Regions from separate parts of the Homo sapiens genome. Here regions 2, 3, 4, 5, 6 and 7 are each linked to region 1. The links are contacts of gene promoters, found by promoter capture Hi-C in blood cells and fetal thymus (Javierre and others, 2016). All regions are on one chromosome and are shown on one strand. The core of a region is centred on a gene start or on the middle of the fragment in contact, and the rest is flanking DNA. Distances in the headings are between cores, read along the strand shown. Region 1 holds the start of OPA1 (OPA1 mitochondrial dynamin like GTPase). Region 2 overlaps FGF12 (fibroblast growth factor 12). Region 3 overlaps FGF12 (fibroblast growth factor 12). Region 4 overlaps FGF12 (fibroblast growth factor 12). Region 5 overlaps FGF12 (fibroblast growth factor 12). Region 6 overlaps LSG1 (large 60S subunit nuclear export GTPase 1). Region 7 overlaps FGF12 (fibroblast growth factor 12).

The links. The method cuts DNA at HindIII sites, captures the fragments that hold promoters and counts their contacts. A CHiCAGO score of 5 or more calls a contact.
Region 2: a fragment that was not itself captured here is called in contact with the fragment with the promoter of OPA1 in region 1 in 1 of 17 cell types (naive B cells); the score reaches 6.5 in naive B cells.
Region 3: a contact is called between a fragment that was not itself captured here and the fragment with the promoter of OPA1 in region 1, in 2 of 17 cell types (naive B cells and total B cells). The highest score is 9.6, in naive B cells.
Region 4: a fragment that was not itself captured here is called in contact with the fragment with the promoter of OPA1 in region 1 in 2 of 17 cell types (total B cells and naive B cells); the score reaches 8.7 in total B cells.
Region 5: a fragment that was not itself captured here is called in contact with the fragment with the promoter of OPA1 in region 1 in 1 of 17 cell types (total B cells); the score reaches 5.7 in total B cells.
Region 6: a contact is called between a fragment that was not itself captured here and the fragment with the promoter of OPA1 in region 1, in 1 of 17 cell types (activated CD4 T cells). The highest score is 5.4, in activated CD4 T cells.
Region 7: a contact is called between a fragment that was not itself captured here and the fragment with the promoter of OPA1 in region 1, in 1 of 17 cell types (endothelial precursors). The highest score is 5.1, in endothelial precursors.

Annotation. Positions count from the first base shown.
Region 1 is chr3:193,591,168-193,595,061 of GRCh38, forward strand. OPA1 (OPA1 mitochondrial dynamin like GTPase) reads left to right here and starts at 2,041. Exons shown (of 31, transcript NM_130837.3): 1 at 2,041-2,242. The coding sequence starts at 2,211. It also overlaps a transcript of ATP13A4 not described here. RefSeq lists enhancers at 1,703-2,354, 1,750-1,819, 1,870-1,919, 2,355-3,006, 2,520-2,599 and a silencer at 2,140-2,289. The HindIII fragment of the contact is 1,567 bases long and covers 1,480-3,046 here.
Region 2 is chr3:192,460,228-192,464,121 of GRCh38, forward strand. The region is part of intron 2 of FGF12 (fibroblast growth factor 12); the gene reads right to left. Among named protein-coding and RNA genes, the nearest start is that of FGF12-AS2, 53 kb to the right of the region's middle. The HindIII fragment of the contact is 1,807 bases long and covers 886-2,692 here.
Region 3 is chr3:192,476,350-192,480,243 of GRCh38, forward strand. The region is part of intron 2 of FGF12 (fibroblast growth factor 12); the gene reads right to left. Among named protein-coding and RNA genes, the nearest start is that of FGF12-AS2, 37 kb to the right of the region's middle. The HindIII fragment of the contact is 8,441 bases long and covers 1-3,894 here.
Region 4 is chr3:192,492,452-192,496,345 of GRCh38, forward strand. The region is part of intron 2 of FGF12 (fibroblast growth factor 12); the gene reads right to left. Among named protein-coding and RNA genes, the nearest start is that of FGF12-AS2, 21 kb to the right of the region's middle. The HindIII fragment of the contact is 2,925 bases long and covers 218-3,142 here.
Region 5 is chr3:192,519,980-192,523,873 of GRCh38, forward strand. All of the region lies in intron 2 of FGF12 (fibroblast growth factor 12), which reads right to left. FGF12-AS3 (FGF12 antisense RNA 3) reads left to right here. Exons shown (of 2, transcript NR_185499.1): 2 at 1,310-1,419. Among named protein-coding and RNA genes, the nearest start is that of FGF12-AS3, 5.1 kb to the left of the region's middle. The HindIII fragment of the contact is 2,417 bases long and covers 717-3,133 here.
Region 6 is chr3:194,668,013-194,671,906 of GRCh38, forward strand. It overlaps LSG1 (large 60S subunit nuclear export GTPase 1), which reads right to left. Exons shown (of 14, transcript NM_018385.3): 2 at 1,997-2,123. Among named protein-coding and RNA genes, the nearest start is that of LSG1, 2.2 kb to the right of the region's middle. The HindIII fragment of the contact is 3,764 bases long and covers 95-3,858 here.
Region 7 is chr3:192,558,556-192,562,449 of GRCh38, forward strand. All of the region lies in intron 2 of FGF12 (fibroblast growth factor 12), which reads right to left. Among named protein-coding and RNA genes, the nearest start is that of FGF12-AS3, 44 kb to the left of the region's middle. The HindIII fragment of the contact is 2,846 bases long and covers 563-3,408 here.

The DNA.
Region 1 (3,894 bases), core at 791-3,290:
ATTTTTCTGCCTCAGCCTCCGAGTAGCTGGCTAATTTTTTTATTTTTAGTAGAGACAGGGTTTCACCATATTGGCCAGGCTGGTCTCAAACTCCTGACCTCGTGATCTGCCTTCCTCGGCCTCCCAAAGTGCTGGGATTACAGGCATAAGCCGCCATGCCCAGCCCAAATGTAGTGTTATTTTTAAAACACTGCATAGGCCAACACTGTCTAAACCAAACAAAACAGGTCTGTGGGCTGAATTTGGTCCAATGGTTGCAGTTTATTATACAACAGTTTGCCCTTTTTTCATGGCAACACTATGTATCTATGGGAGATCATTCCTTATCAGGACATACAGACCTAAAGCATAGGTTTTCATGGCTAGTACGGATGTAATTTATGTGTCTAGTTCCTATACATGGACATTTATACTGATTCCAATCTTTTCCCATTTCATACAGTGCAGAAATAAACATCATCATGCATACATCTTTGCATACATGGGAATGATTCCACAGGATAAATGCCTAGAAGTAGAACTGCAAAACAAGGGCTTCATAAAACATATGATAACCATATATAAATGGTGATGGTGGTTAGTTTCTCCTTTTTTTATGGTTAAAGTCTTTTATCCCTAATTTTTCTTTTTTGTTGTTGTTGTTAAAGTCTCTTGGTTTCTCTTATTTTATTTTCTAAAATAACAAGGAAGTAACGATTACAAAGACACTTTTTGTACAACCCTACAATCCCAGGAAGATCTACAGTTTGCACAGGTTGGTACAGCAAATTGCTCTCTGGACCTGCCATTGAAACAGTCACCACAATAAATAAAGAAAATTCTAAGAGTCCTGCATTTGGGAAGTTTACTATCAATGGCTAGGTCTACTCTTGGTGGTATTGTGAGTGCATGGGTCCAGACTTATGATTCTGACAATTAAGGGAAAAGGAATTGTCTTTATGCTCTGTGTATTTGTGTATGTGTGTGGCATGGGTGGGGGGCGGGTAGTGGGGAGGAGGTGAAAGGTCCCTGAAGTAAAGAGGATGCACAGGACCCTTTTATTTTAGTCCCTAAAAATTGGCTTCATAACCGTTCACAGGCCACATCCCTTTTACGGGCCCTGGTTTCCTTACAAAACATAAAAGGTTTGTGTTGGAAGGGGAAAGGAGTATTTAAAGTGATGGAGGAGAGGAGCTCAAGATGGCTGAGATCTGGGCCTGTCCAACATTGAGAAATTTGGGAGGGGAGCCATCAAAGAAGCCTGGGAGCAGCAGTTCCAGGGAAAAAGGAGAATGTGATGGCCAGAGAGCCAAAAGAAAAAGTAGTTGAAGGAGTGCTCAGCACTAGGCATCTGAACTGAATGCTGTGGCAGGCTCACTGGCCACAAACAATAGGGAGCTGGTGGAGGCCTTGACGAGGACCATTTCAACAAACTGGTGGGCTTAAAATCCGGAAGAAACAGTTGAACAAATCATTTTGACGCCTTTTATAAACCACACAAGCTTATTCCAAACCCGTTACTGGCCTAACTGATTTAAGTCCCTTTCCCATCTGATCCTCAGAGATTCTAAGGGACTTAGCCTATCCATGACTCTTCGTCCTGCTTCTCACCTCCCATGATTGCCCTAACGATGTGAAAGTGCTTTCAAACAAAGATGCCCAAGAAAGAAGGTAGGCAAATGTGCAAGCATTAGTTTGTAGTACGCTATTACTGTATTTCACCTTGCACTCTCTAGTTTCCTTCGTGCTCCCTCAATATCCAACTCTTAATAAATTCATGGCTCCCGGTGAGCATTCATCAATTCTCATTCCACGCCTTTAGCCCTTCCCGTTCCCGCCCAACTCTCGCTCCCTCCCCTGGCCAAATCTCTAACCTGCAAGGCTAATTCCGAATTCCAAATCGGAAGCAAGAGGGCGGGGCCCCGTGAGAGGCGATGGATTGCTCCAGTCCGTTCCCGACGCACTGTGCGCATGCGCTGGTCCTCCGCGGACCGTTCGTGCTGCCCGCCTAGAAAGGGTGAAGTGGTTGTTTCCGTGACGGACTGAGTACGGGTGCCTGTCAGGCTCTTGCGGAAGTCCATGCGCCATTGGGAGGGCCTCGGCCGCGGCTCTGTGCCCTTGCTGCTGAGGGCCACTTCCTGGGTCATTCCTGGACCGGGAGCCGGGCTGGGGCTCACACGGGGGCTCCCGCGTGGCCGTCTCGGCGCCTGCGTGACCTCCCCGCCGGCGGGATGTGGCGACTACGTCGGGCCGCTGTGGCCTGGTAAGTGCAGGCTCTAATCTGGCCCCGTTAATTCTGGGGCCTCTTGAGAGTGGGGCTGTCTTATCTCTATCTCCAAAAATGTGCAGGTGACTCTCAGGCCAGGCCGACGGCAGTTGGAGAATTCCCAGATGTTCTTGAGGACCCAGAATGACAGGAGCCCTGGCTGGGCTTACGTTCGGAGCCGGCTTCAATACTGGCCCTTTTCTCTGGCCCTACCCAACCCGAAAATTCTGGACGCCTCTCAATCTTGGCCCGTCTCTATTGTCCTTTTGTCTCTGCCCTTTACACCCTTGTGTCTTCAGTGTTCTGTCTGTCTCTGGTTGCCTCTTTTGCCTTTTTTCTGTCCTCTCCCTGCCAGGTTTGGCTCTGTCCATGAGTCACCTCTCTCCACATTTCTCCTAACTCTCGGTGTCTTCTTTTTCTTCCATTTCCACGCCATGTGTACATTGCATCTTCAGGTACCTGGGCTCTTCTATCGGGGAAAGGGGCGTCCGTCTCTTTCCCTAGCCCGCTGATAGAAGTCAGAACTAGAGCAATGACGCACACGGTGTCAGAGACGGTGATTCGAGATGCCCTTTCAATAGCAGCTTTTTTCTGTGTTTCGGGAGGGAGACTTACTTTTTGATGCAAGGTCGTGAACGTGGCACCACCTTTCTAATCTCAATCATTGTTGCCCTGGGGTGGTTTAATTCTAAATAGAAAATCATAGAAATCTTTTCATTTCTGTGCGTTACTATATGCATTGTAATGAGATTAAATTGGATTTTATAGGAAATTTTGTTCTAGTATCATTAGATACCTTCAAGCTTAGCTCATTGTTGCAGGCATTTGATAGGAAGTAAGATGCATCAAGCAAAATTGGAAAAACGTGGTTTTCCTGAATTAACTTCTAAGCAGTTGTTTTGAATTTTTTCCAGACCTTTTTAAGTGGTATAGATAATTTATCGTGTTTATAAGGAATGGAATGCATTCGTTAGTTTGTTTTTGTTTTGTTTTGAGACGGAGTCTTGCTCTGTCGTCCAGGCTGGAGTGCAGTAGCGCTATCTCGGCTCACTGCAACCTCCGCCTCCCAGGTTCAAGCAATTCTCCTGTCTCCGCCTCCGGAGTAGCTGGAATTACAGGCACGCGCCAGCACGCCTAGCTAATTTTTGTATTTTTAGTAGAGAGGGGGTTTCACCATTTTGGCCAGGCTGGTCTCGAACTCCTGACCTCATGTGATCCACCCTCCTCGACTTCCCAAAGTGCTGGGATTACAACCGTGAGCCACCGCGCCCGGCCCAATTTGTTTTATATAGGTTAACTGGAGTCCAAAATACAGAACTAGATGAGATAACAATAGTTAACAGTGTTAGTCAGTTAGAATTATTGCATAGGTATTTTTAATCTCATGGAATTTTAGTCTTTGAGTAAGTTCACAGCCCTTGGTATTAAAGTAAGTTATTTACAACCCTTGCATTTCTACTTCTCAATATTTAGTGAGGAAACATATCTGATTTTCTTTAAATAAAAAGAGAAAAGACTGCAGAAGATAGCATTCTCTGTTGGAGCAATTAAGATGTATAAGAAGAACTACAAAGACGGAGTTTTAAAACAAACTGATTTATAAGTGGTATTTATTTAATTGGCTGTCATTGGGCTAAATTATTTCTAAA
Region 2 (3,894 bases), core at 539-3,038, 1.1 Mb before region 1:
TTTTCTTCCTTGCCTGAACTTCTTCCTTTTCCAAAAGACTCAGCTGAACTAACCACTTGGATCACACAAATTTTATTCCTACTCATGCTTAAGTTCGGGTAGGAAGAGGGAGTTTTTTCTAAATTCAGAAACCTGCCTGAGTTCTCTGTCTGAGCTTTGCCCACAGCCTCAGAGCGGAGCTAGAGGAATGGCAGCGAAGTTCAGGATGTCCACTGAAAAACAGTGGAATATAAGGCTCATGTATCAGGTCTCTGAGAATCAACTCTGAAACAAATGTCACATAAGTGCCTTTAAACCCGCAAGCAGAGTACACGTGCTCTGCAACCAGCAAGCACAGGCTACAGACGCTTTCCGAATCTCCCCTCTGTAGCTCCACACTCACCCCTTTACAAAACAAAAACAAACAACAACAGCAACAACAAATATATACATATACACACACACACACATATATTTATATATATATATATATATATATCCACTTTGCATTTACTTGCATTTAGATAGTGCCTTACAGTTGGAAACTTTTTTCTTATATATTATTTAATTTGCTACTTTCAAGAGCACTCTAAGCTGGTTAGGGCAAGAATCATGGGGCTTAGAGAGTTAAAATGAATTTCTCACAATCACTTTAACTGAACTGGAGCAAAAAGTTAAGCATTTTTAATTCCTATGTATTTCCTGCCATACGGTACTGCTAAGTGTTTGCACCTTTCTTTTTTATCCAGAGTACATATATTCATTAAGCATGTGGTATGGCTCACAGTTTGTGCTAAGTGATATGGGGGCCAGTTTTAAAATCTATAATCCATGATCTGTTTCAAGTAATGTTTACTCAATGTGATAACCTATATAACATACAGGACACATTTTTTCACAGGCTGAAGCTTATTCAGAAAATGCAATCATTTAACAATGGGATTTTTGTAAATGAACATTGTAAAACATTTATTTTTGAATAACAAATATACCTTGAATTACACTGGGAGGAACATGCTTAAAGACATGCCAAAAAAATGATCCACATGCACACCTCCAGCTCAAAACATTCAGGCTTGAGATCATCAAAAAGAAAGTTAAACAGAATCTTCATGGAACACATTTGCCTAATTTATAATGACAATTGAAAATATTGGCACTGTGATATCAAAAATGGTGAGCACTATAGAACATACCCAAATTAGGTTAAATACCCTAAAGTAAGAGAAGAGTACAAAATTCCTGTGAAGGATTAATAGTGACTGGAATTCCATCATATTTATAAGGTAAATTATAAACTAGTATCTATCAAATCCTAATCAGTATTTTTATCTGATGTGGTTTTTATTTCTTAATTTAAAGAAATTTTATGTTCTCATTCCTACAAGCTATATAACTGAGATTATAACTGAATTCACTTTTCAGTTATCTGACCCTAAACAGAAGTATGTGTGTAAGCAGAAGTGTGGGGAAGATGTTTTTTAAAAATCATTATTACTTGGCCAGGCACGGTGGCTCATACCTGTAATCCCAGCACTTTGTGAGGCCAAGGCAGGGGGATCATCTGAGGTCAGGAGTTTGAGACCAGTCTGGCCAACATGTTGAAACCCCGTCTCTACTAAAAATACAAAAAATTAGCCAGGCATGGTGGTGCGTGCCTGTAATTCCAGCTACTCGGGAGGCTGAGGCAGGAGAATCGCTTGAACCCGGGAGGTGGAGGTTGCAGTGAGCTGAGATCGCACCACGGCACTCCAGCCTGGGCAACAAGAGCGAAACTCTGTCACAAGAAAAAAAAAAACACACATTATTACTTAATGATTATTGGATGATAAGAAAATGAATCAAATAAAATATATGGCTTGTTTCATTTTGAAATTTAAAACATGTTTTTAAAACTCACTAGTAATAAAGAAATGTATATTAAAATAATAAAATTAACAAACACTGAAACTATTAAGAATTTCTAATGTCAATAAAACAGTGGGAGTATAAATTCTTCTGGACGGAGATTATTATGGTTTGAGTATACCCTCCAAAACTCATGTTGAAACTTAATCTTCAATGTGGCAGTATTGAGAGGTGAGGTCTTTAAATGGTGAGTGGGTCTTGAGGGCTCTGACTCATGAATGGATTAATCCATTCATGCATTTAATGGGTTATCATGGGAAGGAACTGGTGGCTCTACATGAAGAGGAAGAGAGATCTGAGTTAGTATGGCAGGATGCTCAGCCCCCTGGCCATGTGATACCCTTTGCCACCTCAAGACTCTGTAGAGAGTCCCTACCAGCAAGAAGGTCCTCAGCAAATATGCCCCCTCAATTTTGGACTTCTCAATCTCCATAAGTGTAAGAAATAAATTTATTTTCTTTATAAATTACCTGGTTTTAGGTATTCTGTTATAAACAACAGAAAATAGACTGACACAGAGTTATTGGCAAGTTAAGAACTCTCAGATAGTTAAGAAGGCATTACCAAGGTTCTTTAATATGACAGTTCACTGAGAGGACATTAGGTACAAATGCCCCTAACTTTTGATTTAAAAGCCTACAGTAGACTTAATACATTTTAAAAAGGACTTTATGTATAAAGTTTCATATGATAATGATATATATTAATTATACAAATAACTGATTTATAATGTAAGAAATTTAAATATGCAGCCATATAAGAGAAGCACTCTGTAGAAGCTACACAACTGTAATGGCTTACGAAAAGCTTTCAGGGATATTAAAAATATGATGTACGAAGAGTTTGTGGGGATATGAAACCATGCTCATGCTATTGTGTCAAGTGAAAAGAGCAAGCTGGAAAACTGTAGTTATAATAAATCCCCAGGTATAGAGGAGGGAAAATAATATCAAAGGCATTAGAAAGGAACAGACCAAGCTGTTCAAAGTTGTTACTTTAGGGTGATAGAAGATTTTGTTGTTGGCAGGGTGCGGTGGCTCATGCCTATAATCCCAGCACTTTGTGGGGCTGAGGCAGGTGGATCACTTGAGGCCAGAAGTTCGAGACCAGCCTGGACAACGTGGCAAAACCCCATTTCTACTAAAAATACAAAAAATTAGCCAGGTGTGGTGGCACATACCTGTAGTCCCAGCTGCTTGGGAGGCTGAGGCAGGAGAATCTCTTGAACCTGGGAGGCAGAGGTTGCAGTGAGCTGAGGTTGCACCAATGCACTCCAGCCTGGGTGACAGAGTGAGACTCTGTCTCAAAAAAAAAGTTGTTGTTGTCGTTGTTCAAAGGAATTATCAAAATATTATATAATAAAAGACATACCTTGTTTCCATCAACTGGTTATGGTTTTATCTTTTGGGGATGAACTCTTCAAGCTTACCTGGCCATTCCCAAAAGTTAACATCACATATCCTATGAGCTGCCAGTTGCACTTAACAGTCGTGCGTTTTGATTCCCAAAAACCACCCGACACCTTCCCAGCCCAGCACAGTGGCTGGCACCTAGATGGGTGCTTTCGGAACTCTGCTTCCAGAAGCTCTAGGCATGACAGGGAATCATGTGAAAGGATGATGGAAGAGTAAGAGCTTGTGGGTAGGATTTAGTCCCTTAACTCACTTAAATCAGAGTAGCTGGTATTCATCTGTTTTGTTCTTTTTTTAGGTTAGTTTCTGTTTTTGTTTTTTTAAATTAAGAACAAAGCTACCTGCAAAACAACATGCTTTATTATCGTCCATACTATGACTCCTGCCAGTGTTCCCAACCCAAACCCGGCTCACTGGTGAAGCTCTCCAACCTTGCCATACTACCCTCTTTTTTCTACTCCTACTCTTAGATCAGTGGTTCTACTCTTGACTACAAATTAGAGGCACGTGAGAAGTTTTTAAAACACACAATGCCTGGGTCCACCCTTAGAGATTCCAATTACACTGCTCAGGGTGGGGCCCAGGGATGAGTTTT
Region 3 (3,894 bases), core at 463-2,962, 1.1 Mb before region 1:
AAAAAAGTGGCAGAATCTAAATGTGAATCCCAATTGTTTGAGTCTAAAGCCTGACTCCCACCACCACTCTACATTAACCCTGATGAATTACTCATCATTTTACCACAACATATGGGAAGTACTTGATAAATAATTAATGAATGAATTGATCAATGGCATTAAGTCCAACAGCCTCACAGCCATCTGTAATATGCCCCCTGTTTATTTTGTTGGTATTAATCCCCACTGTGACTTTTCATGGAATTACCTCCACAAATACAACATAATGCAAAATTGCAGGAAAGAAGCTCAAACTTTGGGATCTGAGAACAAAGAAGCAAAATGGCTTCCCTGAAGTCAGACACTGAGGATCAGAGAAGTACCTAGCAGTCTAGTTTTGCTAGAAGAAAGGTTGTCTGGAGGACACTAGTGGGAGTAAAGAAAGACTGATTATAGCCAAATTGTAAATGAGTTTGGATGATCTTTACTCTGAAGGCAATAGAGAGCCATTGAATGGCTCCTAAGAGGAGGAGTAACAAGATTGGAGCCATATACAAGCAAGTATCTGATAAATGCTTTCGGATGATTAAGTTGATATCAGACTAGATCCCAAAAGGATATGGCATTCTTAAGTTTGGATAATTTGAGGAATATTTACTTACAAAAGAAGTGATTACAGAAGGAAGAATGAGGTGTAGAGAAACTACAGGGAGCAGGTAGGAACCCAGGGCTAGTAGCAGCAGAGCTGTACTAGCTTAACGGAAAAAGAAGAGAGAGGGGCTACCCAAATCCAGGGGAGAAAGCTGTACAGTGTAAACTACCCAGAAGGCAGCGGTGACATTCTGCCATGGCCAGCCAGAGGTCACTTCACAGGGAAGAAACTAGAGGAATAAAGACTGACTTTGCTTTCTCTCTTCACTCTATCTCCTGCCAGCGCTTCCCACTGGACAAACCCAACAAGCAGCAGAGTACACTCATGCCCCTCAAAGAGTTCACATAGGGGAGACCCCCAGGAAGAAAGCAGAGGTGGGAGAGTGGAGGGGATCTGGAGGCCCAAACCAACGATATCTGGCTCAAAGTCTTCCCAATAACAAGAAAAATTCTATTGCAGTATAGTTTATAGACAATTTTTAGTTACCTGTATTAAGATAAATGAAGAATAAGTAGAAACAATGGTACGATATTATTACCAGTATAAAGATACTTTATTCCCAATGATTGTATAACTATATTTATTTTTAAACACTAGACTCATTTATATTGTAGTTCCAGTTTCTGTAAGTATAGCAGCTATTGAAATGGAGAATGGGAGTGGAGAGAGGGGAAGAGTCAAGTCTGGCCCCAAAATACACACTTTTGATTGGTAATTTGATCTGGCATGAAAAATTAGCTATAAATTATTAGTAGCAGAAAATTGCATATGGTTGATTTAAAAATGACTTCACTCGAAACCACATATTTATAATGATAGTTTAATATGCTGTTTGATCAATTATTCTTTCAGGTTCATGACACAATAGAAAACTGTCATCAACAAGAACGTTGGTGTTTCCTAATCAGGAGCTAAGTGGTTGTACTTTACATCACTTAAAAATACAACTTGTTTCAATTCTGGAGATAATTGCTTTCCCACATGGGCATCCATAGGTTACCTCTTTGTGTGACTGATAAGCACACTGGCTTATGAAAAATGTAAGCCAGAATTTCACTTTGCTAAGAATCGTTAAATTCAAAATATCCTTGGTAGGCATTAGGCCTAAAATCTCATTGCATTTTAGCTCTGTAACCCTGGGCAAGTCTTTTGACCTTTTTAAGCAAATATCTTGCCCTACCTAACCTCTCATAGAACATATATACTGAGCAATTACCGTTTTCCAACCACCAGGTTGGTACTTATCACCACAACCCAAGAAGCAGGTACAACAGTTATCTCCATTTTACTGATAAGAAAAGTGAGTCTTATTAATGTGGGTTAAGTAATTTACTTATAGTCTTACAGCTAATAAATGATAAAGTAGGATTAGAATCCAGCCCCTGGCCCAACTCCAAACTATATACTATATATCCTCCTACTCCATAATTAGTAGATAGTATATACTGTACTATCTTCCTACCCCATAATAGTCATTTAGGGTTTGAATGAAATAACATGTTAAAATATTATGTAAAGGTAAAGAATTATACAAATGTATAATTTTTGTTTTATAATATCTAAGATTCTTGATCATTCCCTAAGTATAACTTTTCAAAGAGTCTACTGTATTCATTCTTCATGTAAATATTTTGATCATCTATTAATCATTTTCAGTTTTCTTGTGACTAAGATAAAATTTTCAAATACTAGACTGTGGAAAAGCATACTTGAAGTAGTTAAAGGTGAACACCGGCTGAAAGAAAAATGAAGTTTAGAAAATTCTTTTAAAAACTATCATAGTATTTAATTGGTCTTCAGAATTGGATTACTGTTTCAGTGTAACTGTTGACTTGCATAAACTCAAAAGAAACAGTTTCTCATATTCCAGTAAGCATGAAACATACTGTTGGTGTTGTCCTGATGTTATGTTATATATTTTAATTCTTACTAAAAGTTTTCTCTGGTTAGAACCTGCTCAGTCCACTTTTCTGCAGAACAGACATCACTAAGGCAAAATAAATCTCCGGTTGTACATATTGATCAAAATATGGAAGCCTAAAAGAGGCATGCTGTTTGAAAAACACTGTGAAACATCATGCAGATGAGTGTTCTTATCCAAAGCCAAATTCTTCCCTTCTTTTAGTTCTTCTTTTTCTGGATACAGGAAATATATTCCCTTTTGAAGAGGCAATATGCCTGGGCCTCCCTCCTTCTCCTCACCAGTGTCTAAAAGGAATTATTCCACTTCCAAGGCCACAGGAGACTATATCAGTGCCATCTATGTTTAGAGTCTAACACCATCATCCTTTCAGAAGGCAGCAGTAGCAGCTATCTCAAAAGACAGAGCAGTAGGATGGGTCCCTGAGCAGATGCCCACCTGTCCAAAGTCCCAGGCTCCATCTGAGTCAGGTGTCATTGAAACATATCACCCAGTGAAAGTCACATGGAGTCTTAATAATGCAGATTTAGTCAACTTCTTTATTTCAGATGTCCAACTAAAAACACCTGGGAGACCTTAAGCATTATCTATTTTCTCTTTCACCAAACAAAATGATAAATGGAAAAAAAAAGTCTGCAGACTCTCCTATCTTCCTTAGCAAACCAAAATAAAGAGAGATTCCTTACTCTTGAATGGTAGGTGTGAGTAAGGTGGGGGAGAAAAATAGCAGCATGAGTCTACTAACCTAGTCTGGTTAAACAAAATCCTGTTTTACACTCTCATGACAATGCTACCCAGTTCATTTGGTCCATTTTAACTGAATGCCTCCACTGTGCCCAGTTTCTGGAGTTTGCACAATTTAAGTTGCATTTCCCATCCCCTAGAATATTAAGAAGTAAGAATATTTTAAAAATTATTACGGTAACATGAGTTAGGCTAAAGAATAAGATTACAGGTAATGAAGACCCTATAAACACTATAGAGCATATACAATCAGGAATTTTTACAGACTCGAGAACTGGGGAAGGGTTTGTGGCACAGATATGGGCCAGCCTGGGTTTGAAAGACAAAATTGGGATTGAGAAAGAGAAGAAAGAAGGATTTGGGGGCTGGAGGAGGGGGGAAATGCCATGCAGATGATGAAAAGATAATAGCAAAGAGGACATCAGTGCTCTGGGAATATTTGGCTGGCACCAACAAGTAGAATTATTTTCTGTGGGGATGGAGACAAAGAAAGGGAATTACAGAATCTAACGACAACTGAAACAATTTCAGTGCTAAGCATTGATTATTATAGAGACAGAATAAAGAGGAAAAAACTTAATCGTAAGACTTCGCAAAG
Region 4 (3,894 bases), core at 430-2,929, 1.1 Mb before region 1:
AGGGTGGAGAAGAAGAAATTATTATTACACATTGCAGAGTTTTTTGAAACAGTCTCATTTCCTCAGCAATTCCCAAAGCACGGTATACAAAATTATCTTAGTTGACACACAGATGAAACTGTTAAAAAAAAGTATGGTTATATTAAAGTAATTATTTTTATAGTAGAAAAAACAGCATGCTAAACTTGTGATTTTACAGACACCATTACTAGGACAAAGCTTAATTAATTTTTAGATACGTTGATTAAAAGAGAAAGGATCACACCGATATAACACAATTCTTCAAGAGGTGCAAGAATTTCTAGTTTTGGGCTACTGTGTTAGTTGATATTTGCTCCTCACATGTCACTAGGTGTGAGAAAAGCCTCCTTAATGGTGCTTTCCTCTGGGTCAGTTCCAAAATTTTTCCAATTTATACACAGGATGGTAGAGATAAGAAGTGATGATGCCTCCCAAGTAGCTGGGACCACAGGCATGTGCTATCATGCCTGGTTAATTTTTGTAATTTTTTTTTTTTTTTTTTTTTTTAGAGACAGGGTTTCACCATGTTGGCCAGGCTCATCTTGAACTCCTGGGCTCAAGTAATCCACCCTTATTTTTAGGAAAACTTAGAAATAGTCATCTCAATGTGTAATCATGGGAATTACAAATTTAGGAGACAAATGGAAATATAAAGAGTCAGAGTATGCCTTGGCCAATGACAGCAGGAGTCCAGGGTCTCAGTCTAGGTGCTGAGACTGTGTGCCTTTAGCAGATTTCTTCCTTGAACCTCAGCTTGCTCATCTGTGAAAGGACTAAATTATCTCTAAAGATTCTCTCTGCAACATCAATCTGTGAGTCTACATATAAAACATTAACTCTGCATTAGGAGCACAGTTAGCTGTTAAGTATGTCAAATGGACTTCTTCTTAACTAAGTGGCCCATAAATTAAATTCTTGCTTCTTCCACCCAATTTATGCACTTATCCAAGTCTATGTGCTAAGGGTTTTATTATTTTATAGCAAATTTTACCACTCAAAGGAAGACATAAGAAGGCCTCAAAGAATGTATTCGTCAGGACTTGCACTTCTATAAAGAAATACCTGAGCCTGGGTAATTTATAAAGAAAAGTGGTTTAATTGGCTCACAGTTCTACAGACTGTACAGGAAGCACGATGCTGGCATTTGCTCGGTTTCTGGGGAGGCCTCAGGAAACTTACAATCACGGCAGAAGGTAAAGGGGGAGCAAGTAATTCACACGGCCAGACCAGGAGGAAGAGAGAGAAAAGGGGGAGGTGCCACACACTTTTAAATAACCAGATCTCAGGAGAAGTCACTGTTGCAAGAACAGCACCAAGGGGGATGGTGTTCAATCAGGAAAAACCACCCCCGTGATCCAATCACCTCCCACCAGGCCCCACCTCCAGCACTGGGAATTACATTTTAACCTGAGATTTGGATGGGGACACAGATCCAAACCCTATCACAGGATGATTTTTTTCTGTTATTTAGAAGAGAACTAGCTATATACCAAGGACACAGTTCTGACTCCTTGGATCAGAAGAGAATGACAGAACAGCACGTACCTAGAGATTTATCTAAACACTTCAGAAATCAAATGGCAAGTTTCATGTTTCTAGATACTTTCTGAAATACTTTCTACTATTTAGCATAACCAAGTATGTCTTGCATCTCTGTCTTCCTCTGTAGCTTCCCCTCCAGTCTCCATTAGAGCTCAGAAAATTCACTAGCTCTTCCTCTCGTAACATCTTAGATTTGACACAGAATATGGGAGCTAGAAGACACTTCATAGGTCATTTATTTCTGCTTCATATCAGATGTTTAACTCCCTCTGCAATATCCCTACAGTCATCTAGCATCTGTTTGTACAATAACAGTCACTGCAAAGTTGATAAGCAGCCAAAACATCCATTGTGTTCTCTACAATAGTACTTCCTGTTGGCACAGAGCTGCTTTTCAAACTAAATCTGTCAAACCTACTTCTACTTCCTCAAAATCATCAGACCATCATATCCTACTTCAATCTCTCTTCTTTAGGTTAAATATTTTTAGTCTTTACCTGTTCCTTCTGAGTCATGATTCCAAATCCTACTAATATCCTGGTCATTATCCCCTAGATGCATTCTAGTGTGATAATATTCCTTGAAAATCATGATTCCCAAGACCAGATATAATCTCCTCCTTCCCACCTGCAAATGCTTTGTGATCTGCATGGAATACAATGGTACAACCTACTGTATCATGCATTCTATTCCTTCTCTCATTTGTGATTTATTTAATATGTGGGACACAGATTGAAACACAGTTGTAGTACAGAGAAACACTAGTAAAACTCAAGGGCTTATCTACATACTTGAAAGTGCTGTGGGAAGAATTGGAGGGCCTATGCATATATATATATATATATAAAATACATTTTTCTTTTTGAGATGGAGTCTTCCTCTGTCACCCAGGCTAGAGTGCAGTGGCACGATCTCAGCTCACTGCAAACTCTGCCTCCCAAGTTCAAGCAATTCTCCTGCCTCGGCCTCCTGAGTAACTGAGATTACAGGTGCCCGCCACCTCGCCCGGCCAATTTTTGTATTTTTAGTAGAGACAAGATTTCCCCATCTTGGCCAGGCTGGTCTTGAACTCCTGACCTCGTGATCCACCCACCTCAGCCTCCCAAAGTGCTGGGATTACAGGCGTGAGCCACTGCACCTGGCCACTAACACATTTTCTACAGTCTCATTAGCCATAATCCAGAAATCATCCTAATCTCTGAAGAAACCTAATAACAAAGCTATACTGAACAAAGCTATACAACAACATACACATTTATATCTATGTATGCTTATATATATGTATGTGAATATATAAAGTGTCCGTACATAAACATTTTAATCAGTCTTACTTTGCATCACAAGTAGTAGAATATGAATGTTTTTTCCCAAGATACTTACATCATGCAGTATATAATTGTTTTTATGAAAGCTGTTTTCCACAATTCACAACAATGATATATATAAACCTATATTATATATGTGTGTGTAAGTCTTTATCAATCATAAAGTGTTTTAGACCTACTTGATCTTTACAGAACTCCAGGATGCTGTAAACTCAAGGAAAGAATTAGCACACTCATTTTCAAATAACACACAAAGCTTGTCAAAATTCACATAGTTTTTAAATTACAGAGACAAAATTGTAACCTAGGCCTTTGTATTCCAAATCCAATAGCCCTCACCTTTTTGAAACAGGGTCTTGCTCTGTTGCCCAGGCTTAAGTGCAGTGGCGTAATTATGGCTCACTGAAGCCTTGACCTCTCAAGCTCAAGTGATCCTCTCAACTCAGCCTCGAGTAGTTGGGACCATAAGCATGTGCCACCACCCCCAACTAATTTATATATATATTTATATACAGGGTTTCCCATGTTGGCCAGGCTCATCTCGAACTCCTGGGCTCCAGCAATCCACCCATCCCGGCCTCCCAAATTGCTGGGATTACAGGCATGAGATACTGTGCCCAGCCTAATCTTCACTTTTAAAAACAGGAAACCATTTGTTAAAATCCATGATTAAAGTTTTTCTAATCATAAATAGAGCTAGACTCTTATGTAAATACTCCCCAAAGAAACCACATGGACTCCAAAAACCATTAGCAGCCTCTAGTCACAAATGCTATGATCATTCTTAATAGGAGAAATTCAAAACCAAGAAAAGCCGAAGCAAGATGAAACATTTATAAAACGTCTAACTTTCCACCCCAAGCTAATGGATTCTTGCCACCACTGCAATATCTTACATTGCTTAAAACAAATGTTCCCAGATCTAATTGTACAATATAATCTCGGGGGGAGCTTTTCTAAAATATAAATACAGAACCTTTCTGATAGAGGAGGTCTGGTGCAGGAC
Region 5 (3,894 bases), core at 675-3,174, 1.1 Mb before region 1:
TTATTTTGTCCCCTCTACCCTAGCCCTGGATTCAAATGATTGCCAAATGAGTCTGGGTTCTTTCTTTGGAGAACAATAGCAACCAACATCTGAGCGCTAAGTGTCCTCATTCTTACTGGGGTGTTATTGCTCTCAGGTCCTCTCAGCAGAGAGAGCTAGGAAATCTATATACACATACACGTACATCATATTTATTTCTACATTTCTATCGGTATATCTTTTTAGATAGATTCTGATATATCATGTAGAGCTAGAGATAGAGATAGATATCGTTAATACTTCAATCCTAAGTCAATACCACCAGGTTCATTTTATTTTTTGCCTTTTCCTTATTTGTAACTTCTTTCTGACAGTGAAAGGCCTGACTTCCGTTATTTATAATATATTCACTTATTTATTAAATCCTACTATACACTTAAGGTAGTTAGAGAATTGCTAACTGATACTCCTGTGAGAAACACTTATTACAAGAGTACAGTATTTATGTACACTTATTTTTGTCTTGAACTTTACAGTATCCAATCAAAATACTATTTTCTTTTGAAAGTGACTTAGGTTGCTTCTTTACTTGCCCATCCTCTTCAGTGTGGTTTGGTTATTCATTTGTAAACTTATATTCCATACACATTGATTTTAATTATTTAACTAGATTTAGTTTACTTAAATTATTTTTTTTATTTGGGTGCGTGAAACGTTACTATGGTACTTAGAGTCAAAGCTTTACCAAAAAGTATAGCTTGATAATCGTTATTCCCTCATTATCCCTCCTGGCCAGTTCCTGTTCCCTCTTTTTTTCCACTTATTTCCCATGCACTGCCTATAGGTAACTGGTTTCTTTAGTTTATCTTGCCTGTGTTTCTTTTGTACAAATGCACACACACTCTTCTATGTAGTGGTCTTTTGATTGTTTCCAGTATTGTACTATTATAAACAATGCTGCAATAAGTAACCTTGTGTGTAGCATTTTCATATTGTAGAAAACACTGCTAACCAATACTCCTGTGAGAAATACACTCTGTGTGCCTCCAGGGTAGCCTCCTAGAAAAAGAAATGCTGGGTCGAAAAGTATGTGTATAGATATTTATGCTAAGTATTGCTGAATTTTACTCCAGAAGGCTTGTATGAATTTAGATTCCTGCCAGCAATATATGATTGCCTATTTGCCCACAGCCTTACCAACATAATGTATTGTCCTACTTTTTCATTTATGTCAGTGTGATTGTAATGTTTTAATTTGCATATCTCTAATTATGATTGAGTTTGAACATTTTGTCATTTGTTTGAGAACTTTTTTCTTATCTTCAAATAGATACCTCCAGGATTTGGGGCTGCAGTTGGACGTTTTCCATCTCTTCTAATAGCACTGTAACAAGTTGTCTTGAATAAACACGAGCTCGTTAGCCATAAGAAAACTTTAAAGATGAGTTATCTAATTCAAATGGAAGGAAAATGTTTTTAAATCATCATAGTAAAATATGAGCTGTTTATTTTGCAAAATATGAGGTCAATCAGTTCAGGATAATAAATACTTATGAATGTCAAGGAAAAAAAGCAATTGCTCATTAGTCAAAACTCATTACCAAAGGAGGGGCACAATACAAAATGGGTGTTTCCACCCTTTTCTCCTATCACCTGAACACGTCTCTGACCCTATAAATTATACACATTTCTTGAGACCTACCATAGAAGCCACAGCGATCTCTCTGGTAAACTTTCCCTCCTATCTCCCCGCCTCCCCCAAAGCAGTCACAGCTTCCTCGTAGTTCCCACAGCACACTGCAATTCCTCTATTATAGGATTTATTTTATTCAGCTTGCACATGTATATTTTCCCCCCAAGAGACTATGAGCCTTTTCGCCTCCAAATTTTGGTGTTCATGTTCATATCTTTTATGTTTGTATATCTTGGTACCTAGAATATGTAAGAAATAATTTATTTAAATATTGATGAAATGAAAACAATGGGGACTTTTACTTTGGGAGGCCGAGGCGGGCGGATCACGAGGTCAGGAGATTGAGACCATCCTGGCTAACACAGTGAAACCCCATCTCTACTAAAAATAGTAAATATTAGCCGAGCGCGGTGGCGGGCGCCTGTAGTCCCAGCTACTCGGGAGGCTGAGGCAGGAGAATGGCGTGAACCCGGGAGGCGGAGCTTGCAATGAGCCGAGATCGCGCCACTGCACTCCAGCCTGGGCGACAGAGCGAGACTCCGTCTCAAAAAAAAAAAAAACAAAAAAAAACGGGGGGGACTTTTTTGTGATTTTCCAATTGGGAAAAATATTTGTAATTCTGTATTACATTTAAAAACAATAGCTCAGAAAGAATTTAGAGTGAGGATATGAATTAGATAGAAGATATAACTTACTTTTAAACATTTGAAAAGTCATCAGATTCACACATGAAATAATATATATAATCCAAAATCAAATATTAATACCGTATAAGATTTCAAGGATAAAAATGTTTGATAACTTGGTGTACTAGAGAGAATATAAAGGAAATGGGAACCCTCATACATTCTTGGTAAAAGTAAGCATTAATGCCTTTATGGATAGCTATTTGTCTCTAACCTTCAAACTTTAAAAAGCCAATTCCCCCTTTGGCAAATTCTTATTTAGTTATTTTAGATATAGTTGCATAAGCATACAACAGTGACAACTGCACAAAGTAGTCGGTACAACATTGTTGATAACACTATTTGATAGTAGTGATACTAATCTATCAATAAGGAACTAACTTACATTTTGGTATATTCCCACAAAGTAATGTGCTACAATTTTTTTAATATGAATAGATCTGTGAAATTTATTACTGAATTTAACAACCATATAAAAGAATAAATATAGTTTGCCACAATTTGTGTAATCTAGAAAATAAGAATGTGCATACGTTCACGTTTATAAACTCATGGACTCTTTCTGAAAAGGTACACAAGAAATTGGCATCAGTTGTCGTCTGAGGGAGAAAGATTAGGTAGCAGAACACAACAGAGAGGGAGACCTACTTTTGACTGCATTCCATTTTATACTTTAAAAATGTACCATATGCATATTCTTCAAAATAAATAACATATTACAACAAAAATCAGTTATATAAATTTGGCTTTGATTTTTAAAACATATTTATTACTAAGCTTAATTAAAATACAAAAATCCAGAATGTGAAGGAGACACACAGGGACTAGAAATGTTATTTCTAAGTTGCAACAGGATATAGTCTTGATGCCTTGAGAATCAGAAGACCTAAGTGAACATCATAACTTCTCAGAGCCTAACAGTAGAATGTTGGTACCAAAAGGAGTTCAAGTATTGATGATCATTATCCTCTAGGATGAAGGGATGCATGAGGAAATGATAAGAAATTTCCAAAGTGCCATAAATCTGAGGTGCTACTCTTATTTTACTTTTAAACTATATATTCATTTTTAAATGGGAAGTCTTACATTTAGGTGACATTGGGAAAAATAGTTACTTCCATGTGATTGTTATAAACCATGTTTGATTCCCACATGCCCTTCTGGAATTTCAACAATCTTGAGTATTAAAGACACCAAAACAGTAATAAAGAGCCCTACCCAAGTCTGATAATAAAGATTCACCCAACCTCTTTTAGCTTTCGTATTATCCAAGCTCTCCAAATAAAACTTTCATCAAATTTTATAAGATACTATTAAGTCCACCTGTTAAATGAATTAAACAATATTCATTTCTATTCACTGCACATTTAGCGAGTGCATATTTTGTTTAAATATAACCCTGCCCTCAGTGGACTCACTATCTCATAGGGATGGAAATAATAGATAGCTATACAAACAATGTTGAGATGGATAGAGAAATGTGAAGCCTGTGGTAATGATAGCACAGATGAGAAGAGTGATTCTGATTGCCGAGGA
Region 6 (3,894 bases), core at 727-3,226, 1.1 Mb after region 1:
AAAGCATACAATTCAATAATTTTCAGTATATTCACAGAGTTGTGCAGCCATTGCCACAATCCATTTTAGAATATTTTCATCACTCCAAAAAGAAAGCTTTACCCATTAGCAGTCACTGTACACCCCCAGGTACCTGGTGGAAATCATCTACTTTCTGTAGATTTGCCTCTTTAGGACTTTTTGGTGTTTCCACTTTTTGGTGATTACGAATAATGCTGCTATGAATACACATGCACATATTTTTGTGTAGACATGTTTTCATTTCTTTCGGGCATATACCCAGGAGTGGGACTGCTGGATCAGATGGTAATTCCATGTTTTACCTTTTGAGGAACTGCCAAAATTTTTTTATAAAACAGCTACACCATTTTATACTCCCACAGCGATGTATGGTGTTATAATTTCTCTACATCCTCACCAACATTTGTTATAGTCTCTTTTATTTTAGCTATCCTAGTGGGTGAAGTGGTTATTTCACTGTGAAACCCAGGAGTTTATTTTTGTCCCTTCACTCTTTTTCACTTACACTACCCTCTCCATCAAGTCTGGTTTACTCTAGCTCCTTAAGTGTTCTTGTTCCTCTTATTTTCTCCCTTCTTCTACTACCTGTATTTCAGTTCTGGCCTATTTTGCTAGACTAAAGTGATACAGTCTCCTAACTCATCTTGCTTCCTTAAAATTCATCAGTGATCTTTTAAAAAATGAAATCTCATGTACCCATGAGACATACCTGCACTCCCATGTTCCCTGCAGCGCTATTCACAAGAGCCAAGATATGGAACCAACCTCAATGCCCATCAACGTATGAATGGATAAAGAAAACGTGGTATATGTAGTATACAATGGAATACTATTCAGCATTACAAAAGAGGGAAATGTTGACACTTGTGACAATATGAATGAACCACTCTGCTATGAGAAATAACCCAGGCACAGAAAGACAAATACCACATGATCTCACTTATACGTGGAATAAAGCCGAGCTCATAGAAGCAGAGAGAAAATGGTGGTTACCAGAGATTAGGGAGTGGGGCAAATAGGAGGATACTGGTCAAACGGTAAAGTTTTACTGAGGCAGGATGAATAAGTTCTGGAGGTCTAATGTACAGCCTGGTGTCCATAGTTAATAATAACACATTTATTAGTTAATAATATGAAATTTGCTAAGACAGTATATATCTTGTTCTCACCGCACACACAAAAAAACAATGTGAGGTGATGGATACGTTAATTACTTGATTTTAGTAATCATTTCACAATATATACATATAACCAAACGTCACACTATATACTATAACTATATACAATTTTTAGTTGCCAATTGTGTAGCTCATTAAAGCTGGAACCCACACATCCCCCCAAAAAACACTAAACAATGAAATCTGAAATCATGTTGTACACGTGCTTAAAGCCCTGTAAAGCCTTAAACCTTTGTTCTCTCCAGAATCTGGCCCTTGCCCACCTCCTCAGCACCTGTGCTCATCACATCCCGCCCCCTGCACCAGCAAAGCCAAACTTCTAGCCATTTTCTGAACAAAGTTGGCTGCTGCTTCACATCTGGGCTCGAGTCCTCTGCCTGTCTGTGTAAAAGGTCTTATCTCATCTGTCCTTTGAACATCTACTCATTGTTCAAGACTCAGGGCGGGCACGGTGGCTCACACCTGTAATCCCAGCACTTTGGGAGGCCAAGGAAGGCGAATCACGAGGTCAGGAGATCAAGAACATCCTGGCCAACATGGTGAAACCCCATCTCTACTAGAAATACAAAAATTAGCCAGGCGTGGCAGTGCGTGCCTGTAGTCCTAGCTACTTGGGAGGCTGAGGCAGGTGAATTGCTTGAACCCAGGAGGCGGAGCTGCAGTGAGCTGATATCACGCCACTGCACTTCAGCCTGGGTGACAGAGCGAGACTCCATCTCAAAACAAAAAACAAAAAAAACCTCAGCCCCAGATGGAAATGTGACAGTCTCACCTGCACTCAGCAATAAACAACTTACCAGCTACAAACTCTGTTCCTGCAAGTTCTGCAGTAGCAAGGAAGTCATCAAGGGAGCTCTGTTCAGTCACTGACTGAAGATTAAGACGACCCCAATCATAGCCATCATTGAGTTCACTTGTGTGCAACTATGAAAAAACACAGGGTGATAAATACAGCTGCTCTCTTCTGCTCTTGGCATCCAATAAGCTCTAAAATTCCTTGCAACTAGTCTATGGTCTTGAGGGTGGTTGTAGTCCCTTTAGAATCAATACTACTTATAGTTAATGTTTAAAGGAACACGTTCTTACCTCACAATAGGCAGTTCCCTTTCACCATTTCATTAATTTTCAAAATCTTTTGAGGTGAATTTTACTGTATTTCCATTTTACTGATGATGAAACTAAGGCTTCAGCAGATAAAATAACTTGCCTATAGTCAAAATCTAAATGGCACAGGTAGAACTTGAACCCAGATTGTCTGACTGTGCTAGTCAAAATTAGTCAAAACTTTATTTGATATAATCCCACAATAAGAAATACATTTTACATAGTGACCCAAAGGTGTATGTACATATAATGATACAAGCATTCAAGTACCGTTCAGTACAGTAAAATGGCAATAGAAGAATACTGAAACCACACCCTATTACATGCAACATTCTGATATTTCTCTATCTTGCTGGGGAAAAAATAAAAACAAAACAAAACAGCTAGCTGCAGACCACTAAATTGACTTCCAGACACAACCCAGAGTTTGATAACCATCACCCTAAGCTATATACTTAGTATAGATACAAATAAAAAAAAATTGCCAGGCGTGGTGGTTTGTGCCTGTAACCCCAGCTCCTCAAGAGGCTAAGGCAGGAGGATTGCTTGAGGCCAGGAGTTTGTGATCAGCTTGGGCAACACAGCAAGACCCTGTCTCTCCAAAACAAACAAACAAAACCAAACAACCAGGCCTGATGGTGTGCACCTGTAATGCCAGCTACTCAAGAGACTGAGGCAGGGGGATTATTTGTGCCCAGAAGTTTGAGACTGTAGTGAATTGGTGAGTTATGATCACACCACTGGCACTCTAGCCTGGGTGACAGAGTGTGACCCTGTCTCTAAAAATGAATAACTGAATGATGAATGAATTTCCTAAATAAATATTAAGGGCCAAAAGTTTAAGTGGGCATAGAATCAGCAAAAATAAGGAATTAGGATCCAATTCTTTACCATTCATGTTCAATCTTCCCACAGTTTCCTAAAAGGCTTCATTAGTAACAAGTTGCTTCAAAGCTAATAAAAATTACCAGTAATCTAATGTCCAGAGTAACTCTGACCTGATGAATACTGATAAGCACTCCATGCTGTTTACTCTGCAGACTATATGGATGAAAGTCAGCTGGTGTGACAGTGGCACACGCTTACTTAGCTCCAGGGACATATTTAACTAAATTTAGCACACGATCTTAGCACTCAACATGTTCTCATTCATTCCCGGGGGAATGAATGGTGAAAATAACGACTAGAATGATGAACACAAGCCAAATCACTTCATTCATTTTTTTAAAGATCCTTCTATAACCTAGTAAAATATTAGGTCTTGTCACACCTGAAAAATCAATGATTTATCTTTGAGCTAAACCACTAGGGGGTGCTTCGCAAGGATGAGGCAAGGATCTGAATTATTTTATATTTCTGGCAGTAACCAACCGCTTCTGGAGGATCCATTCTTTGAACAAATCAATACAAAAATACGTTTTGTCTTTTTCCTGCTCTGGAAGTTCCAAGCACTTCAGTGGCTTCTAGGGCAAAACCCAAACGTACTCAAGACCTGGCATTGAAGACTCTTCAGATTCTCACTCCACGCCTCATCACCACACTAACTCTTCTTTCAAGCTTCTCCTACCTTTGTGTTCTGGGCCTTGCCAGG
Region 7 (3,894 bases), core at 736-3,235, 1.0 Mb before region 1:
TTTTTTGTGGAAATGGAAAAAAAATCCTAAAATTCATATGAAACCAAAAAATAAACAACAACAACAACAACAAAACACTGTATAGCCAAAATGATTTGAGAGAGAAGAATAAAGCTGGAAGCTTCATACTTCCTGACTTCAACATATTACAAAGCAACATAATCAATGCAATCTGGTACTGCCATCAAGACAGATATATAGATCAATGGAATAGAATAAAGAGTTCAGAAACAAACCCATATGTATATATTGGTTAAATGATTTTTGACATAAGTGCCAAGACTACAAAATGGAGAAACAATAGTCTCTTTAACAAATAGTGTTGGGAAAATGGAATATCCACATCAAAATAATGAAATTGAACCATTATATTACACCATAAACAAAAATAAACTCAAAGTCGATTAAAGACTTAAATGCAAGATCTGAAACTATAGAACTCTTATAATAAATCATTAGGGAACATCTTCATATCGCTTTTCACAAGGATTTCATTAATTTGACGCTGAAAATACAGACAACAAAAGCAAAAATAGACAAATGGGACTACATCAAACTAAAAAGCTTCTGCCCAGCAAAGAAAACAATCTGCAGGTAAAAGCCAACCTAAAGAATGAGAAAAAATATTGGCAAATCATATATCTGAGGAAGAGTTAATTCCAAAATATATAAAGACCCCCTTCAACTCAATAGCAAAACCAACAGATAACCCACTTTTTAAAATGTTTTAAGAATTGGCAAAGGACTTGAGTAGACATTTCTCCAAAGAAGACATATAAATGGTCAATAGGTGTATGAAAACATGCTCAATGTTACTATGGGAATAGTAAAAAGATGAGTGGTTATCAAGAGGTAGGGATAGGGAGGGGTAAACAGGTAGAACACAGAGGATTTTTAGGGTAATGAAACAATTCTGTGCGATGCTATGATGGTGTATATATGTTATTATACATTTTTCAAACCTCATAGAATGTACAACACTAAGCAAGAACCATAATGTAGAACACTGATTAATAATGATGTGTCATATGTATACATATGTAACAAACCTGCACATTGTGCACATGTACTCTAAAACTTAAAGTATAATAATAATAAAACTAAAAAAAGAAGAAAAAAAAGATGTGTCAATAGATTGCAACAAAAGTGCCACTGAGGTGGGAGATGTTGATAGTAATGGAGGTTGTGTCTGTCTGGGGACAGGGACATATAGAGACACTCTCTGTACTTTCCACTCAATTTTACTGGGAACCTAAAACTCCTCTAAAAACTAAAGTTCGTTAATGAATTAAAAAAATCAGTAGGTAAGTAGAAGATTTCAGCACTATCTCAACCATTTTAACCTAATTGATATTTATAGGACACTACTGCAACAATTGCAGAACACACATCCCTTTCAAATGCTAAAAATGTTCAAGATTCATTCATGATATACCATAAAATAAGTAGCAATAAATTTAAAAATATTGAAATTTTACAGTGTATGTTCTCTGACCACAATGGCATTGAATTAAAATTCACTAAGATGAAGAAAATCTTCAATATTTTGAAACGAAACAGCACATTTGTAAATCACCCAAGGTAAAGAAGAAACAACAAGGCACATTAGATAATTTCTGAAAATGTATGTTCACGAAAACAAATCACTCTATATTTGTATGATCCAGTTTAACTAAGTCTTAGAAATATATGAGATTCAAATTCTTATATTTGAAAAAAATTAAAATCAATAATCTAAGGATTACTTTAAGAAGATAGAAAAAGTAGAGAAAATTACACTCAAATAAATAAAAAAATAATAAAGAGCAAAAATCAAAATATAAAACAAACAATATTGGAAAATTTAAAAGCCAAAGTGTTTTTGTAAAAAAAGGTAATAAGATGGTTAAACCCTAACATAGGTACTGTTGATGAAAAAAGAAAAAACAGTAATTACCAATACTAGGAATAAAAGATGGCATGTCATTGTAGATTCTATGGGCAAATATTATACATGCCCTTGTGTTAGTATATTCAAATTAGGTAAAAGGATTAATTTCTTGAAAAGCGTGAATTAAAAATTGAAAGGAAAAATGAAGAAAATAAATATAATTCTGCCTGGTAAATAAATTTAATTTGTAAATTAAAAACCTTCTCACAGAGAAAGCTGGAGGCCTGGTTGGTTTAACTGCTGAACTATATATTAAATATTAAAGAAAGAAGAATGCTAATTTTAACAAACTCTTTCCTAAATTAGAGGAAGAAATAAAACCTGTCACAAATCTAACAAACCTATTACTGAAAAAAAGGCAAATTAATATTCTCATACACATAGATGTGAAAGAGTAATAAAATTCTAGCAAACAAAACCTAGCAGAGTATTAAAAAGAATAAACAAAATATAGTACATGCATACAACAAAATATTTAGCCACAAAAAGGAATAAAGTATTGACTCATGCTACATGGGCAAACCTTGAAAACATTATGCTAAGTGAAAGAAGACTGTCACAAGAGGTCACATATTACATGACTCCATTTATCTGATATGCCCAGAACAGGAAAATCTATAAGGGAAAGGGGAAGCGGGGAGTAACCAACATATATATATGCCATATATACACACACACAAACACACGCACAGCTATATACACAAACACACATTCTGCAAATCAATAATAAAAAGACAACACAAATTTTAAAATAAGCAAAATATTTGAACAGGCACGTCAGAACAGAGGACATACAAATGACCAATAAGTACATGAAAAGTTATCAACATCATTAGTCTTCAGCGAAATGAAAATTAAAATGATGGTGAGAAACTTCACTTTTCTTTTTTTTTTTGAGACAGAGTCTCGCTCTTTCACCCAGGCTGGAGTGCAGTGGTGCAATCTCAGCCCACTGTAACCTCCACCTCCTGGGTTCAAGCGATTCTCCTGCCTCAGCCTTCTGAGTAGCTGGGACTACAGGCACCCGCCACCACGCCCAGCTAATTTTTTATATTTTTAGTAGAGATGGGGTTTCACCGTGTTAGCCAGGATAGTCTCGATCTCCTGACCTTGTGATCCGCCCGCCTCGGCCTCCCAAAGTGCTGGGATTACAGGCGTGAGCCACCGTGCCTGGAAAATACTATTTATTTGTGAGGATACAGACCAACTGCAACTCTCATACATTGGGAGTGTACTATGTTACAAACGATTAGAAAATAATACTTCTAGAAATGTCACTTAAAATAGTATCAGATTGTTTGCAAATTTGTTTCCCAGTTCATTATAAAGTTAAACAAGAGCTTACACTATGACCCCGTACTTCTGCTCCTGGGTTTTTACACAAGAGAAGTTAAAACATGGCAAAATAATAATAATAATAATAAAGAAAAAAAGAAAGAAAAAAAAAAGAAAATGACTTGTACATGAATATTTCCAGAAGCTTTATTCAAGTTAGTAAAAAACTGAAAATAATTCAAATGTCTACCAAAATAAAAACAAATAAATACACCATGGAATACTTAGACAATAGACCTTATACTCAGCAATTTTAAATAATTAACTAGTGATACACAACAACATGATGGATCTCAGAAATTTTGTTTAGGAAGAAGTTTCAAAATAGTATAGACTGAAAAAATTCATTTATATGCAATTCAAGATTAGGCCAAACAAGTCTATGATGAGAAAAATTAGATAATTGGTTGTGGGTGGGTGGGGAAGAGACTGACTGGAAGGGATGTGAAGAAATTTTCCCAAGTGAAATGTTGTATGTCTTGATGAATGTGTTGGTTATACAGGTTAATTTAACAAAACTCAATAAATTACACATTTAAACTTTCTGCATTTTATTGCATTTAAATTTTTAATTAGACAATAGAAACACAAAGAATGCATGTATTTTTACTTCATAAATGCATGAAGTA